Linked DNA regions of Homo sapiens: all the other regions are linked to region 3. Evidence: promoter capture Hi-C in human tissues and cell types (Jung and others, 2019). All regions are on one chromosome and are shown on one strand. The core of a region is centred on a gene start or on the middle of the fragment in contact, and the rest is flanking DNA. Distances in the headings are between cores, read along the strand shown. Region 1 overlaps LOC101929270 (a long non-coding RNA gene). Region 2 overlaps SPTAN1 (spectrin alpha, non-erythrocytic 1). Region 3 holds the start of TBC1D13 (TBC1 domain family member 13). Region 4 overlaps NUP188 (nucleoporin 188).

What was found. The method cuts DNA at HindIII sites, captures the fragments that hold promoters and counts their contacts. A contact is called where the count stands out against the background at its distance.
Region 1: a contact is called between a fragment that was not itself captured here and the fragment with the promoter of TBC1D13 in region 3, in 1 of the 25 tissues and cell types used here (IMR-90 fibroblasts).
Region 2: a contact is called between a fragment that was not itself captured here and the fragment with the promoter of TBC1D13 in region 3, in 2 of the 25 tissues and cell types used here (dorsolateral prefrontal cortex and thymus).
Region 4: a contact is called between a fragment that was not itself captured here and the fragment with the promoter of TBC1D13 in region 3, in 3 of the 25 tissues and cell types used here (H1 embryonic stem cells, heart left ventricle and pancreas).

Annotation. Positions count from the first base shown.
Region 1 is chr9:128,542,992-128,546,892 of GRCh38, forward strand. It overlaps LOC101929270 (a long non-coding RNA gene), which reads right to left. Exons shown (of 4, transcript NR_188457.1): 2 at 388-693. It also overlaps the pseudogene RNU7-171P. Among named protein-coding and RNA genes, the nearest start is that of SPTAN1, 7.6 kb to the right of the region's middle. The HindIII fragment of the contact is 3,945 bases long and covers 131-3,901 here.
Region 2 is chr9:128,564,860-128,568,845 of GRCh38, forward strand. SPTAN1 (spectrin alpha, non-erythrocytic 1) reads left to right here. Exons shown (of 57, transcript NM_001130438.3): 2 at 1,879-2,118; 3 at 3,913-3,986. The coding sequence starts at 1,882. Among named protein-coding and RNA genes, the nearest start is that of SPTAN1, 14 kb to the left of the region's middle. The HindIII fragment of the contact is 4,499 bases long and covers 1-3,986 here.
Region 3 is chr9:128,785,059-128,788,882 of GRCh38, forward strand. TBC1D13 (TBC1 domain family member 13) reads left to right here and starts at 2,195. Exons shown (of 12, transcript NM_018201.5): 1 at 2,195-2,318; 2 at 3,276-3,349. The coding sequence starts at 2,296. RefSeq lists a silencer at 1,843-2,332. The HindIII fragment of the contact is 9,895 bases long and covers 1-3,824 here.
Region 4 is chr9:128,979,378-128,983,120 of GRCh38, forward strand. NUP188 (nucleoporin 188) reads left to right here. Exons shown (of 44, transcript NM_015354.3): 14 at 1,229-1,348; 15 at 1,887-2,013; 16 at 3,172-3,324; 17 at 3,525-3,651. Among named protein-coding and RNA genes, the nearest start is that of NUP188, 34 kb to the left of the region's middle. The HindIII fragment of the contact is 8,140 bases long and covers 1-3,743 here.

The sequences.
Region 1 (3,901 bases), core at 853-3,352, 240 kb before region 3:
CGAGGCTGCAGCGAGCTGTGATCATGCCACTGCACTCCAGCCTGGGTGACAGAGCAAGACCCTGTCTCAAAAAAATAAATAAATAAATAAGGTAGACACAATGGAATGAACACTGGGGACGGAGTCAGGAGACCCCGGCTCAAATCACTTTTAGGTTTTTTGGCCTTGGGAAGGTCCTTCACCCGCTCTGAACCTCAGTATCCCCACCTGTAAAACAAAAGAACTGGACATGTCACTGTAGTTTTCAAACTATGCTTGATAGCAGTTCCTTAGCGAAGAGCTTCCCAGCTGGTGTGCCTTGGCATGATGACCTCATTAGCCCTCCCAGACAAGGCCTGTGGTGGGTGAGCCCCCAGGAGCGGTTCCATTCACATTTCCTCTCCTTACCTTTGCCTTAAAAATGGCATAATTCATCCGGGTGTGGTGGCTCATGCCTGTAATCCCAGAACTTCGGGAGGCCGAAGCTAGTGGATCACAAGGTCAGGAGTTCGAGACCAGCCTGGCCAACATGGTGAAACCCCCCCATCTCTACTAAAAATACAAAAATTAGCCGGGCATGGTGGAGCACATCTGTAATCCCAGCTACTCCGGAGGCTGAGGCAGGAGAATTCGCTTGAACCCGGGAGGCAGAGGTTGCGGTGCGCCGAGATCGCGCCACTGCACTCCAGCCTAGGCGACAGAGGAAGACTCTATCTGAAAAAGAAAAGAGAAAAAAAAAAGGCATCATTTTCTAGGTACCGTGACAGGGAATAGGTTGGGAAGCAATGACTTCAGGACAGGGGGATGTTGAGTGAATGGGGCTCAGCCCTGTAGCCAGTCAACATACAGAGGCTTAAAGCAAATTTCCAAAAGGCATCCCTTTTCCTTCAAGATACTACCACCCTCTATTGGACAACTGCCCTGTTAATAACTGTACAAATCTATGAGTGTTACAGCTCTTTTAGAATTTGTCTAGCAGGTTTTCCAATCTTCACTGAAAAGCTTTAAAAAATAAAGTAAAATTATGATGGAGGTCATGGTACCTCCCAGAGTTGTGCAGCTCATGTTTTGCACAACCATTTAGGGGTTCTAATGGAGCTCTGGGATCCTCTCTGCCACAGCCTTTTTGTTTTATGTGCTGTATGATATATTATGGTTCCATGTAAGATTATGTATGGAAAAGTTCATCTGTCAAAAACAAAATGAAAAATCACTGGATGAGATGATCTATAATTTCTCTTCCACTTTGGATTTGTATTACTTCATAGAAAATACCTCTTAGGCTGGGCATGATGGCTCATGCCTGTAACCCTAGCACTTTGGGAGGCCAAGGTGGAAGGATTGCTTGAGCTCAGGAGTTCAAGAGCAGCCTGGGCAACATAGTGAGACCCCATCTCTATTATAAATTTTTAAAATTTTAAATAAATAAATTAAAAAGAAAATTTATGAAATACCTCTTACGATTTTTGAATTATTTGAATATTCTTCCTCTAGTGGTTAGTGGTCTTGCATATGTCATTTGATGCTGGTATTCCTAATGGATTTCAATGGTAAACCAAGAAAGGAGAGCACTGGGAGTCCAGGTTTTTGATACTGACGGATAGAGATAATGATTACTAGATGAGAGATGCAGCTCCTGATGGAAAGTAGCATCAGACTCCTTACAGCAGAATACTAAGGACTGCCTTCGGCTTTAATTCAAATACTCACTTGTCTCCTTTCTTGCTTTCAAACTTGACCTCATTTATCAGGCTGAGGATCCATGTTTTTGTCACATTATTGTCCTGCTAAAGCAAATCTGATGACAAATTAAAAATTCCAAGAGGACAGAAACTCTACACCTCCCTTACATAGAAGAATAGATTTCTGAGGATTTCCCACCCATGTGCTAGGAGCTTTCCCCCTACTTCTCCAGCTTTCTATGATGATAGCAGTGACAAAATTAGGCTTGGACATCTTCTATCTCAGTGTCAGGAAAACCAAAAGCTCCACTAAGAGCCACAGAGCTTCTTACAAGTGCCTATGTCACACCTGGTAATCCCCTTCACTTTTCTTCATCCTGCCTAATGAATTCCTGACATTAGATTTCCAGTGGACCTACAGAGAGTAGATTAAGCCAGGTGCAGTGGTTCACACCTGCAATCCCAGCGACTTGGGAGGCCAAGGCAGGAAGATTACTTGAGCCCAGGAGTTTGAGACCAGCCTGGGCAATACAGTGAGACCCCATCTCTTAAAAAAAAAAAAAAAAAAAAACAAACAAAAACAGCCGGCCGGGTGCAGTGGCTCACGCCTGTAATCCCAGCACTTTGGGAGGCCGAGGCGGGCGGATCATGAGGTCAGGAAATCCAGACCATCCTGGCTAACACGGTGAAACTCCGTGTCTACTAAAAATACAAAAAAAGTAGCCAGGCGTGGCAGCGTGCGCCTGTAGTTCCAGCTGCTGGGGAGGCTGAGGCAGGAGAATGGCGTGAACCTGGGAGGTGGAGCTTGCAGTGAGCCGAGATCACGCCACTGCACTCCAGCCTGGGTGACAGAGCCAGACTCTGTCTCAAAAAAAAAACAAAAACAAACAAAAAAAACAGGTCACACGCCTGTAGTCCCAGCCACTTGAGAGACTGAGGCAGGAGGATTGCTTGAGCCCAGGAGGTTAAGTCTGCAATGAGCCATCATTGTACCACTGTACTTCAGCCTGGGCAACAGAGTGAGACGCTATCTCTAGGGGGAAAAAAAGCAGATTAGAACTATAGTCTTCCTGGCTATGTGATGCATTTACAAAAACACCCATTATAAAGGGATTTATCCTTTCATTTAAAGCCAGCCTCCATTTAAGAAAGTATCAGTTTTTTCCAGAAGGATGTATTCAAGAACTTTTTTTTTCTTTTAGTTCTTTCAGGATATTTATACTCAGTGCAGCATGTGATCCTAGATTGGAACCTGCACTAAAAATAAAGATATTTCTGTGGGTGTGTTTTTTGCTATAAAGGACATTGGAACAATTGGTAAAACTTGAATAAGGCCTGTATATTAGATAATAGTACTGTGTCAACATGCATCTCTTGACTTTGATCATTGTACTGTGGTTATGAAAATGAATGTTCTTATTCTTGGAAAATATACATTGAGGTAAGTGGGCATGATGTCTGCAACTTATTTATTTTTTTGAAACAGAGTCTAGCTCTGTCGCCCAGGCTAGAGTGCAGTAGTGTGATCTCGCTCCCTGCAATCCCTGCCTCCCGGGTTCAAGCGATTCTCCTGCCTCAGCCTCCTGAGTAGCTGAGATTACAGGCACCCACCACACCTAGCTAATTTTTGTATTTTTAGTAGAGACGGGGTTCCGCCATGTTGGCCAGGCTGGTCTTGAACTCCTGACTTCAGGTGATCTGCCCACCTCGGCCTCCCAGAGTGCTGGGATTACAGGCATGAGCCACCACACCCGGCCTGCAACTTATTTTCAAATGACTGGGGGGAGGGGATATATATGTGTATACATATATATGTATACACGTGTGTATGACAATGTATATGTATACAGCTGTTATGTGTGTCTATATATGTAAACATAGAATAATAAAGCAAATGTGGTCAAAGGTTAACAAATGGGGGAATCTGGGTGAAGGGTATATGGGATTTCTTCCCAGTATTCTTGTAACTTTCCTGTAAATTGGAAACTATTTCAAAATTAACAGATACCTCTCTTTTCACCCTGCAAAAAAACATGCTTACAATTCTGATGAGGTGACAAAATCAACCTCTGGAACCTACAACCCTGAAAACAGGACCCTGGTGACTAAGGTTACCTTGAAGCCATCGACCTGTAGCAAGGATGGAATGTTGACTCTAAACATGTTTTCAACATAGGTGACTTGAAGGTAGAATTTTAATTCAATCGAGAATGCGATTTAAGCACCTGGAGCACTTGATG
Region 2 (3,986 bases), core at 673-3,172, 220 kb before region 3:
GAGTTTTAAAGGGAATTACACATTTTAGAGCAGAAAGAATACTTCTATCCGCCACAAGGGTAGGGGTCACGGGTGAGAGATAATACCAGGCAGGCATGTTGGGCCAGATTGTGAAGGTCCTGCTCAAGAGGTGGGTTCTTTCTTCTGTCTGAAGGAAGCCATAGGTCGGGGGCAGTGGCTCACACCTGTAATTCCAGCCCTTTGGGAGGCTGAGGCAGGCAGATCACGAGGTCAAGAGATCGAGACCATCCTGGCCAACATGGTGAAACCCCATCTCTACGAAAAATACAAAAATTAGCTGGGCGTGGTGGTGCAGGCCTGTAGTCCCCGCTACTCGGGAGGCTGAGGCAGGAGAATCACTTGAACCCTGAAGGCAGAGGGCAGTGAGCTGAGATCATGCCATTGCACTCCAGCCTGGTGACTGAGCGAGACTCCGTCTCAAACAAAAAACAAAAAAAAGCCATAAAAGATTTGGGAGTGGCATGGCGAAGAATGTTTCCTTTTATAGTATAAAACATTTTGGACTGTGGAAAAACAATAATACAACAAAAATACATGGTTGATATGTGGAGAATAATTTAAAGGAATGGTGATATGACTAAAATCAGCTCATCTACACTTCTCCAGGAAGGTGGTCTCTTAGAAAGGCAATCTTCAGATCTGATCAGGCACAGACAGTGCCTTCCTACCACCAATGAGAACTGCTTGAATCCCTACAGAGCTGGGGCACTAGCTAGAAACTCTGACATCAGCCATCTCCTTCTGTTTACCTGCTAGGTGGATGTGGGGCAGCACTCTTGACAGGTTTCATTCCTAACTCTTAGCCTACTCACCCTTTTCTTTCTGTCTTGGGATAGACGACAGGATAAAGGAAAGAACTCCCAGATGTTTCCAGGGTAACACAATTTTATACCTTTTATTATACATTGTAGAACAATAGCTGGAAGGGACCAGCAGGCTTATCTGTTCTGCTTCCTTAGTGAACTCAAAAACCTCTCTATAGGCTGTAATTTTGAAGTTCGAAGAGACTTGAGAGCACGTCGTTTTTCCTGACATTTTTAGTCACTTTAGGAAATTGAGGCATGGAGAGGGAAGGTGGCTAGTGTGAGGTCACATGTTGCTGACAAATTCAGAAGCTTTTTGGCGTTAATCTGTATCTGTTTCCTTCTGTGTTCCTTAATTAGTTAGAGGATAAAATGGCATATTCTTTGTTTTCGGTTTTTGTTTTGTTTTGTCACCCAGGGCGGAGCGCAGTGGTGCAATGATGGCTCACTGCAGTCTTGAACTCCTGGGCTCAGGTGATCCTCCTGCCTTAGCCTCCTGAGTAGCTGGTACCATAGGCACACACCACCATGCCCAGCTATTTTTTTGTATTTTTAGTAGAGACGGTGTTTCACCTTGTTGCCCAGCTGCTCTCGAACTCCTGGAGTCAAGCAGTCTGCCACTTTGGCCTCCCAAAGTGTTGGGATTACAAGTGTGCGCCACCGCACCCCCTGCTTGAAAGGACTTCTGAATGGACTTAGCAGTGATTATTTGAATACCACAGTTGCTGTTTCCTCTGAATCCTTGAAGCCTTTGTAGAATTGACAGTACAAACCATAGTTCTCCCATTCACAGTTTTCATTTGGTTTCCTTGCCGTGTGTGGGTTAGGCATCTTCTGAGGGCCCTATGTAGGTAGGTGTTGCAGGGGAATGGATGGCCGTTTTTAATAAAGAAATAGGATCTGGGCTTCATTGTTCCTAAGAAGGGGCTGTCTTCTCAATTCATTTGTCTCCTGGGTTTATCTGATAATTATTTCTTTCCTTCAGAGAGGCTAATTACTTTTCATCTATTTTGGTGCCTATTGGTACTTATCTCAGCGCATTTTGTCATTTCAGAAAATGGACCCAAGTGGGGTCAAAGTGCTGGAAACAGCAGAGGACATCCAGGAGAGGCGGCAGCAGGTCCTAGACCGATACCACCGCTTCAAGGAACTCTCAACCCTTAGGCGTCAGAAGCTGGAAGATTCCTATCGATTCCAGTTCTTTCAAAGAGATGCTGAAGAGCTGGAGAAATGGATACAGGAAAAACTTCAGATTGCATCTGATGAGAATTATAAAGACCCAACCAACTTGCAGGTACGTCTGATCTCCTGGGATTCCTGCCAAAATTCAAGAGCCCAAATGTTCTTACCCAAAAATCAGACGAGGAAAGTTACTTAATTATGACCTTGAGAGATTGGACAAGAAGAATATAATAAGGAAGGACAAACTCATTGTTTTCCTGTATTAGTGAGGGTGAATGTGGAATCTTAGAGGTATTAATTGTCTTTTCTGGATGCTTTAAACTGATGGTTCTCAAACCTCTGCCTTGATACTACTGGTGAGCTTTAAACATTTTTCAGGGAAGTTCTGGGTTAATCTCTTGGAATGAGGTTTTTTGTTTTGTTTTGTTTTGTTTTTGTTTTTTGAGGCAGAGTTGCGCTCATGTCGCCCAGGCTGGAGTGCAATGGTGTGATCTTGGCTTACTGCAACCTCCACCTCCCAGGTTCGAGTGATTCTCCAGCCTCAGCCTCCCAGGTTGCTGGGATTACAGGCGCCTGCCACTGTGCCCAGCTAATTTTTGTATTTTTAGTAGAGATAGGGTTTTGCCATGTTGGCCAGGCTGGTCTTGAACTGACCTCAGGTGATCCACCCACCTTGGCCTCCCAAAGTGCTGGGATTACAGGCGTGAGCCACCACACCTGGCCTGGAATGAGTTTTTGAGGAAGGCATAATAGTGATGTTGCTGGCAAAAATTTATAGTTATTCTGGAGTCAGATATCAAAGAATAAGTACTTAAAGTTATGAGTCCCTTTCAGAGACTTGGTAAATCTTATCAAAAGCAAAGCCTGAATCTTATGGTACGTAAATTATATATTTAAAACTTTTTTTTTTTTGAGACGGAGTTTTGCTCTTATTGCCCAAGTTGGAGTGCAATGGTGCAATCTCAGCTCACTGCAACCTCTGCCTCCCAGATTCAAGTGATTCTCCTGCCTCAGCCTCCCGAGTAGCTGGGAATGTAGGCACGCGACACCACGCCCAGCTAATTTTTTGTATCTTTAGTAGAAACAGGATTTCATCATGTTTGCCAGGCTGGTTTCGAACTCCTGACCTCAGGTGATCTGCCTGCCTCAGCCTCCCAAAGTGCTGGGATTACAGGCGTGAGCCAATGCACTCGGCCAAAACTTTTTTTATAAAAAGGGAAAGCCTTTCTTCTCACTTATTTCAGTGAAAGATTTTTAAAGAAAATTGTTTCGGTAGCAAGTGGAACAGTAGTTGGGCCCATGGATTTTTTAACTATAAAAAATTGATTACAGTAACCTAAGAAGAGAATGAAGAACACTGCTTTAGGTACAATCCCTGCCTGGCAGGCCCCTTCCCATCTTAGTATTTGATGAAAAAGAGGTATTGAGAAATGGAGTGTAGGCAGGGTCAAAGAGTCTGGCCTCTAAAGCAAGTGAAAGAAAGTCTCATGTGTGAGTGAATATGGATGGATTTTTCAAGAGTAAGCACTGAATGTTGAGAAAACTGTTGGTATGGTTCTGTATTTCTAGAAGGGACTGGATGTTCACATAAAGGCTAATTTTCTGATAGCAAAAACAAAAAATTATTAATAGGATATTTTGTAGCATCTTCCATTGACAATGTTAGTTCTCAATGGTGAGTGAGGACCATTGATGGCCCTCGCTGGCCAGGCTTTCAGAGGACCAGGAGAAATGCAGTCAGAGTATTTGAGGAATTGAGCAGGTAAGAGAATGGGCAAGGTGCCAAATGATGTATCCCTAACTAGAGGGAGCAGGATTGAGGAGGGGAGGAACACGGGGAACAGCGGGGACAAAATGCTGATGCTGTGTGGTTGCGTCTGAGGCTCACTTCAAGGTCCGCCAACAGGGAAAGCTTCAGAAGCATCAAGCATTTGAAGCTGAAGTGCAGGCCAACTCAGGAGCCATTGTTAAGCTGGATGA
Region 3 (3,824 bases), core at 945-3,444:
TAAAAATTAGCCAGGCAGGGTGGCATGAACCTTTAATCCTAGCTACTCGGGAGGCTGAGGCAGAAGAATCGCTTGAACCCGGGAGGCAGAGGTTGCCGTGAGCTGGAGATCACCCCATTGCACTCCAGCCTCGGCAACAAGAGTGAGATTCCGTCTCAAGAAAAAAAAAAAAGAAGGCCAGGCATGGTAGCTCATGCCTGTAATCCCAGCACTTTGGGAGGCCTGAGGTGGGCAGACACTTGAGGTCAGGAGTTTGAGACCAGCCTGGCCAACATGATGAAACCCTATCTCTACCTCAAAATACAAAAATCAGCTGGGCATGGTGGCATGCGCCTGTAGTCCCAGCTACTCAGTAGGCAGAGGTTGCAGTGAACTGAGATTGCGCCACTGCACTCCAGCCTGGGGTGACAGAGTGAGACCATGTCTCAAAAAAAAGAAAGAAGAGTATATATGCATAGCAAACGTGTGAAGAGATGCTCAACATCATATGTCTTTAGGGAAATGCATGTTAAAGCAGGAGATACCACTTCACATCTACTAGAATGTCTAAGATTAAAAAGACTGACCACATCAAGTATTGGTGAGGACGTGGTACAACAGCAACTCTCATATACTGCTGGGGTAGGTGTTAAATAATACAACCATTTTGGAAAATATTTAAGCACTTTCTTTTCTTTTTCTTTTTCTTTTTTTTTTTTTGAGATAGAGTGTCGCTCTTTCGCCCAGGCTGGAGTGCAGTCGTGCAATCTCCACTCACTGCAAGCTCTGCCTCCCAGGTTCATGCCATTCTCCTGCCTCAGCCTCCCGAGTAGCTGGGACTACAGGCACCCACCACCACGCCCGGCTAATTTTTTTCTTTGTATTTTTTAGTAGAGATGGGGTTTCACCGTGTTAGACAGGATGGTCTCGATCTCCTGACCTCATGATCCGCCCTCCTTGGCCTCCCAAAGTGCTGGGATTACAGGCGTGAGCCACCGCGCCTGGCTAGCTGTTTCTTTCTTTTTTTTTTTTTCTCAAGAAAAAGGTGTTAAATAATACAACCATTTCGGAAAATCTTTAAGCAGTTTCTTTTCTTTTCTTTTCTTTTTTTTTTTTTTTTGACAGGGTCTTGCGTTTTTGCCCAGGTTGGAGTGCGGTGGCGCTATTGGAGTGCGGTGGCACTATCTCGGCTCACTGCAAGCTCCGCCTCCCGGGTTCAAGCAATTCTCCTGCCTCAGCTTCCTGAGTAGCTGGGATTACAGTTGTGCGTCACCACACCCGGCTAATTTTTGTATTTTTAGTAGAGACGAGGTTTCACCATGTTGGTTAGGCTGTTCTCAAATTCCTGACCTGGTGATCTGCCCGCTTCAGCCTCCCAAAGTGCTGGGATTACAGGCGTGAGCCACCACGCCCGGCCTACTCAACTAATTTTTACATCTTTTGTAAAGAAGGTAATCTCGAGGAGCTGGGATTACAGGCGCCTGCCACCACGCCCGGCTAATTTTTGCATTTTTGGTAGAGACGGGGTTTCACCGTGTTGGCCAGAGTGGTCTCCAACTCCTGACCTCAAGTGGTCTGCCTGCCTCGTCCTCCCAAAGCACTGGAATTTACAGGGATGAGCCACCGCGCCCGGTCCAGCCTATTTTTCTTAAGATATCATTTGTGTTTTTTTCTTTCTTCCTAACTTACATTTTATAGGGTTTGCTGGTATAGTTTTTATAAAAAAAAAAAAAGTTGGGCCGCGCACGGCGGTTCATGCGAGTCCCTGCTATACAGGCCTTGAGGATTCTGCAGAGACCAAGATAAGCTGGGGGGCCTGAACAGTTTAGCAGGGGAGGCCGAGACTCCTGTAACAATCATGCAGTAGTTAATTACAGGGGGGTGAGTGCAGGGAAGACGACAGGGTGACAGGTATATTGCGTAAGTAGACACTGAGGCCCAGGGAAGCGCAAGGAATAGTCCAGAGACACACAGTCTGCGCTGTCACCGGCGGGTTCTCAAATTTGGCCCGCAGGGTCGGCGGCGCTGGGGCTCCCGGCCCGCGATTGCCACGCCCACCAGACCCGAGGTTGCCCCGCTCAACCCGGCCGGCCGTAGCCGCCAGTACCGTGTGGAAGCGTGAGAGTCGAGGGGTGGCACGTGACTGGCGGGGCGGGGCGGGGCTGAGGCGGTGGAACGCGCAGGCTAGTGGCTGTGTTTCCCGCCGGAGGCTTTTGCGCAGAGCCCCGCGTCCCTGGGGGGCGGCGGCGGCGGCGGCAGCGCAGGCGGCAGAGGCGCAGGCGGCGGAGGCGGCTGGGGGGTCCGGAAGTCAACACCATGTCAAGTCTGCACAAGAGCCGGTAAGGGGCCATGGGGCCTGACCCGGCTGGGCCACTCCTGGCCAGGCTGCCCCTTCTGCCCCTCAGAAGGGGGAAGCGCGGGTGTGGCCAGGAATCGGCAGACCCCCTCGGCAGAGGGTCTCGAGCGTCCACCTTCTAACCTCATTGCCTGTGGGCTGCAGGAACGACGGAGGGGCGGCCCTTCTCCTGCCCCTGATGTCACTGCTTCTGCCTCCCTCATCCTGGACCCCTGGTGTCCCCCTTCCCCTGAGTCTTCCTCATCCAGACCCCCATGCCCCGCCCCCGTGCCTTTCCCCCTTTTGATCCCCCTGCTCCCGTACTCTCTCCAAGTGCACCCTGTCCCCCGTGCCTTTTTCTTACTAGGATTGCTAGAGAACTTGCATTCTCCAGTCTGGCCCCTCCCCCAGGCCAGATCCTGCAGCATTGGCTGAATTTTGCTCACTCTTCAGTTTTCCTTCAGGACGTGTTTTTTAAACCCTTTGTCCTTGCCTTCTGGCAGGCCCAGAGGTCTTGTAATGGTTATATTTGTGAGCATGGTCCATTGTCTGCATATCAAATTACTCCTGGTTCCTGAGGTCCAAGGAGTTCAGTTGGTGGCTGTGCGTGGACCCGGCCTGGCCGGCAGGAAGTGCCCAGTAAATGTCAGCTCACTAAGTATTAGAATGTTGGAATATGTCTAATTTTATGGTCCTCATTTGGGAACTTCTAGACAAGAATATCTCTCAAGTTTCTTCCCTGGCATTCTGTGTTTCTGGTTGTAGAGGAAGAAGTGAAATATAGTTTTGTTGTTCTCCAAAGCTGTCTTTGGTGAGGACCTTGACTAAGCTGTGTGATTTTTATGTCCTAAAGGGGAGAGAGGCACAGGTTGGAAACTGGCAGTGTGAGGGAGCTGAGGGCTGTGGGTCTCACTGAGCCGATATCAGCATGCTTCATTTGCCGCCCTATCTCCCCTTCCAGAATTGCAGATTTCCAGGATGTCCTGAAGGAGCCCTCAATTGCATTGGAAAAGCTGCGGGAACTCAGCTTTAGTGGTAAGAAGCCATTCTGTATTTTCACGGTTTCCCTACAGCAGCCCTGTGGCTAGAATACAGGGGGAGGCCACACCTGGTCAGCTCTGGGGCCCAGCTGCTGGGGGCTGGGGCCTTGGAAGGAAATTACACACAGACTCTTGGGGCCTTTTCCAGATTCTGTAGAGCTGAACAGGCAGTGACTGCCTTGAGCTTGGAGGGGTTTCCCAGAGGGGCAGTGGCCACACTTAGCATGCCCTAAGCTTTCCTAAGCTTTCCGCAGGAGGTGCCAGATTCCTGAGAGTAACAGGACAGGACTGAAGCCTGGAGAATGAGAGTTGGGACCTTTTGAGCCCAGGACAGTCTTTCCTCATTCCTTAGCTAGCTTCCTGTGTTGGTGAGTTTGGTTAACTGCAGGGTTGTTCCTTGTTCTCTCCCTGGCTTGGGGTCTAAGCTGCCTGAACTAAACCTTGGCTAGTGGTAAAATGGGTAGCCTTGG
Region 4 (3,743 bases), core at 1,034-3,533, 190 kb after region 3:
TTGTTTTCTTACAGGTTTTGTACTAAGCATTCATGTGCATTTTCTCATTTAATCTTCATAAAAACGTATGAAGTAGATACTATTACTGTCCCTCTTTTAATGTGATGACACATGACACTTAGAGATGTGAAGTGATTTGCTCAAAGTCACACATAGAAAGAGGCAGCCAGAACCCAGTTCTGTCTGACTTGAGTCTGCAGCCCACGTTATTACCAGTGTGCTGTCTCCAGCCCACCAGGTTTTTTTTTTTGTTTTGGTTTTGTCTTGTTTTTTGAGATGGAGTCTTGCTCTGTTGCCCAGGCTGGAGTGCAATGGCGCGATCTCGGCTCACTGCAACCTCTGCCTCCCGGGTTCAAGCAGTTCTCCTGCCTCAGCCTCCCAAGTAGCTGGGATTACAGGCGCCCGCCACCATGCCTGGCTAATTTTTTGTATTTCTAGTAGAGACGGGGTTTCACTATGTTGGCCAGGCTGGTCTCGATCTCCTGACCTCGTGATCTGCCAGCCTCGGCCTCCCAAAGTGCTGGGGTTACAGGCGTGAGCCACTGAGCCCGGCCTTCCAACCCACCAGTTTTTTGTTTTTATATATGGCAGTGTTTTAGACACCAGTGTTCCTGCAGCTCTTGAAAGTGCTTTTAGGAGATTGTAACCGTAGCCTATGAGTTGTCAGGGTATTGTAACTAGTTAGAGTGAGAATTTGGCTTTGAAAAGAACAATTTCTCACCAGTACTTGCTCTGAGCATTGACAACAGTCTCAAACCTCAAGATCCAACTGATGATCTACCTGTGTATTTTACCCTCTTTTTTGTAAGATGCTGTCTGATGTTATAGAACCACAGTGCTCCTGGGAGAAGGAGAAGCTGGTATGAAACAGTATCTAGAGTGAGGATCTGTGGTTGCTGTGTGGTAGCCAACTGCTGACATAGTTGGGTAATTTGCACTTTAGTGGAAACATGTAATGCACAGGTGAACAATACTGTCTTCCCATAGAAAGGATGGCTGGGAAGAGGTCACTGGATAGAATAGTAATCTTTTTTTAGGTCCCTCACTAAATCAATTATTTTATATCCTTTTTCAGTGGAAATATGAAAGTCTTAAATTATTAAGGAGGGATGATATCTGTCTAAAAGGAAGGATTAATTCTAAATTTTCTCATGATTGCTGGGAAATTTGGAGAGATGTTAATTTGTGGATAATGTGAAGATCAGTGATTTGTCCCCTTCCACCACAGGAGCCAACTTCTGGCCTTGGGATCATTCTGGACAGTGTGTGTGGAATGTTTCCCCACCTTCTCTCCCCACTCCTGCAACTGCTCCGAGCCCTGGTATCAGGGAAGTCCACAGCCAAAAAGGTAAGTTGCTTAGTCAGATAAGTAAAGAGAATGGGAGATTCTTTATGGAGACTTTATTAGGAATCTTTTTTGCTTTCCACATTGCAGTTCTACTGCCATGACAAAAGTTTGTCTGAAGGTGAATGAAAGATACCAAAGATAGCACCTCAATTCTAAAAAATTAAATAATCTTTTCATTAAGTACCTATTGTAGATACTGTGGGACTAAGACTAAGTATAAAGTTCCTTAATATCTAGTTGGAAGTTACTAGATATAAGAAATAAATAGCTAAGAGCCAGGTGGTACAGAGTAAATGTCATTTGAGCAATAAAGACCATACTGTTCAGGAGAGATAACTGCCCTTGTGGAGTGATGGGGACTTGAGTTGAGTGTTAAAGCCCAGTGAAGATTTGGCGAGGGGCGCAGAAGGCAGTTCCAAGAACAGTCACAGTGGTGGGCTTGCAAGAAGTTTGAGAGTCTGGTTGAAAGAGCAGACTGTGGGACCTCTCCTTGCTTATCCTGGAGGGAAATGTGTGATGGTTTTTTCTGTTTTGGCAGGTGTATAGCTTCTTGGATAAGATGTCTTTCTACAATGAACTTTATAAACACAAGCCTCATGATGTGATCTCCCATGAAGATGGAACTCTTTGGCGGAGACAAACACCCAAACTCCTTTATCCCCTTGGTGAGATAAAGAGATCCCCCTTTTATGACAGCTTTTTTTTTTTTTGATGTCTTGCTCTGTCACCCAAGCTGGAGTGCAGTGGCAAGATCATAGCTCACTGCAGCCTCAAATTCTTGGGCTCAAGTGATTCTCCCACCTTAGCCTCCCAAAGCACTGGGATTATAGACGTGAGCCAATGCATCCAGGCAGTTACACTCTGAGGCTCACATCTGTACCAGGTGCTCAAAGAGGAAAATATACAGGGAATAGCCTCACCGTTTTAATCCTGGCATCATCACCACTGACTTCTCCAGTCATCTAGGCACTAACAGTCCTATGAGGTACTGTTGTTATCATCATTTGAATGGAAAACTGTTCTTTGCACTCAAGTGATTTTCAGACATATAGAAAGAGTCACTTGTCGGCCAGGTGTAGTGGCTCACGCCTGTAATCCCAACACTGGGATTACAGGCCAAGGTGGGCGGATCACGTGAGGTCGGGAGTTCGAGACCAGCCTGACCAACATGGAGAAACCCCGTCTCTACTAAAAATATAAAATTAGTCGGGCGTGGTGGTGCATGCCTGTAATCCCAGCTACTCGGGAGGCTAAGACAGGAGAATCGTTTGAACTTGGGAGGCAGAGGTTGCAGTGAGTTGAGATCGCGCCATTGCACTCCAGCCTGGGCAGCAAGAGCAAAACTCCATCTCAAAAAAAAAAAGACACTTGTCTACATGACAAGAACTTTTTTGTGTATTTTAGTTGAAAAAGCTTTAGGAATGTTAGCTACTAAGAAGAAAGCCTGTGAATCCCAGAACTTTGGGAGGCCAAGACAGGCAAATCACTTGAAGCCAGGAGCTCAAGACCAGCCTGGTCAACATGGAAAACCCCATCTCTACTAAAAATACAAAAATTAGCCAGGAGTGGTGGTGCGCACCTGTAGTCCCAGCTACTTGGGAGGCTGAAGCACGAGAATCACTTGAACCCAGGAGGTGGAGGTTGCAGCGAGCCGAGATCGCGCCACTGCACTCCAGCCTGGGCAAGAGGGAGACTCTGTCTCAAAAAAAAAAAATGTCTGTGAGTTTGTGTATCTCTGTGTGTTTAAAATATTGATGTCTGGTAGAGGAGTTACATTTTTTATTTATCCTCAGATATTAGACTAATTTATCTTTCTCTCTCAGGGGGTCAAACCAACCTTCGCATACCTCAAGGCACTGTGGGCCAAGTAATGTTGGATGATAGGGCATACCTGGTACGCTGGGAATACTCCTATAGCAGCTGGACCCTCTTTACCTGCGAGATTGAAATGTTGCTTCATGTTGTTTCAACTGCAGGTAAGGTCAGCTTTCGGAAACATCACCTACGAGGAGGAAAAGTGGATATGCTTGGAGGATTTAGAAAATAGAATATCTACATAAAATTTAGAACCATCAAGATTGTGATTTGTCTGATTTGTGTATCTGGGTCTCAGAGACTGTTCAGTGATCTTAAAGGGGTTGTTTGCCGTGAGGTCACAGGCTGTCTTTCTTCTCAGATGTGATTCAGCACTGCCAGCGAGTCAAACCCATCATTGATCTCGTCCATAAGGTCATCAGTACAGACCTGTCGATAGCAGACTGTCTCCTGCCCATCACATCTCGCATCTACATGCTGCTGCAGCGGTGAGTCTGTCTTGGCTGACCCTCAGCTGCCCAGTAGAGATCTCAGCACTTGTGCCCTCAGTTTGCAGGAACCTGGACACATACCCACTGGG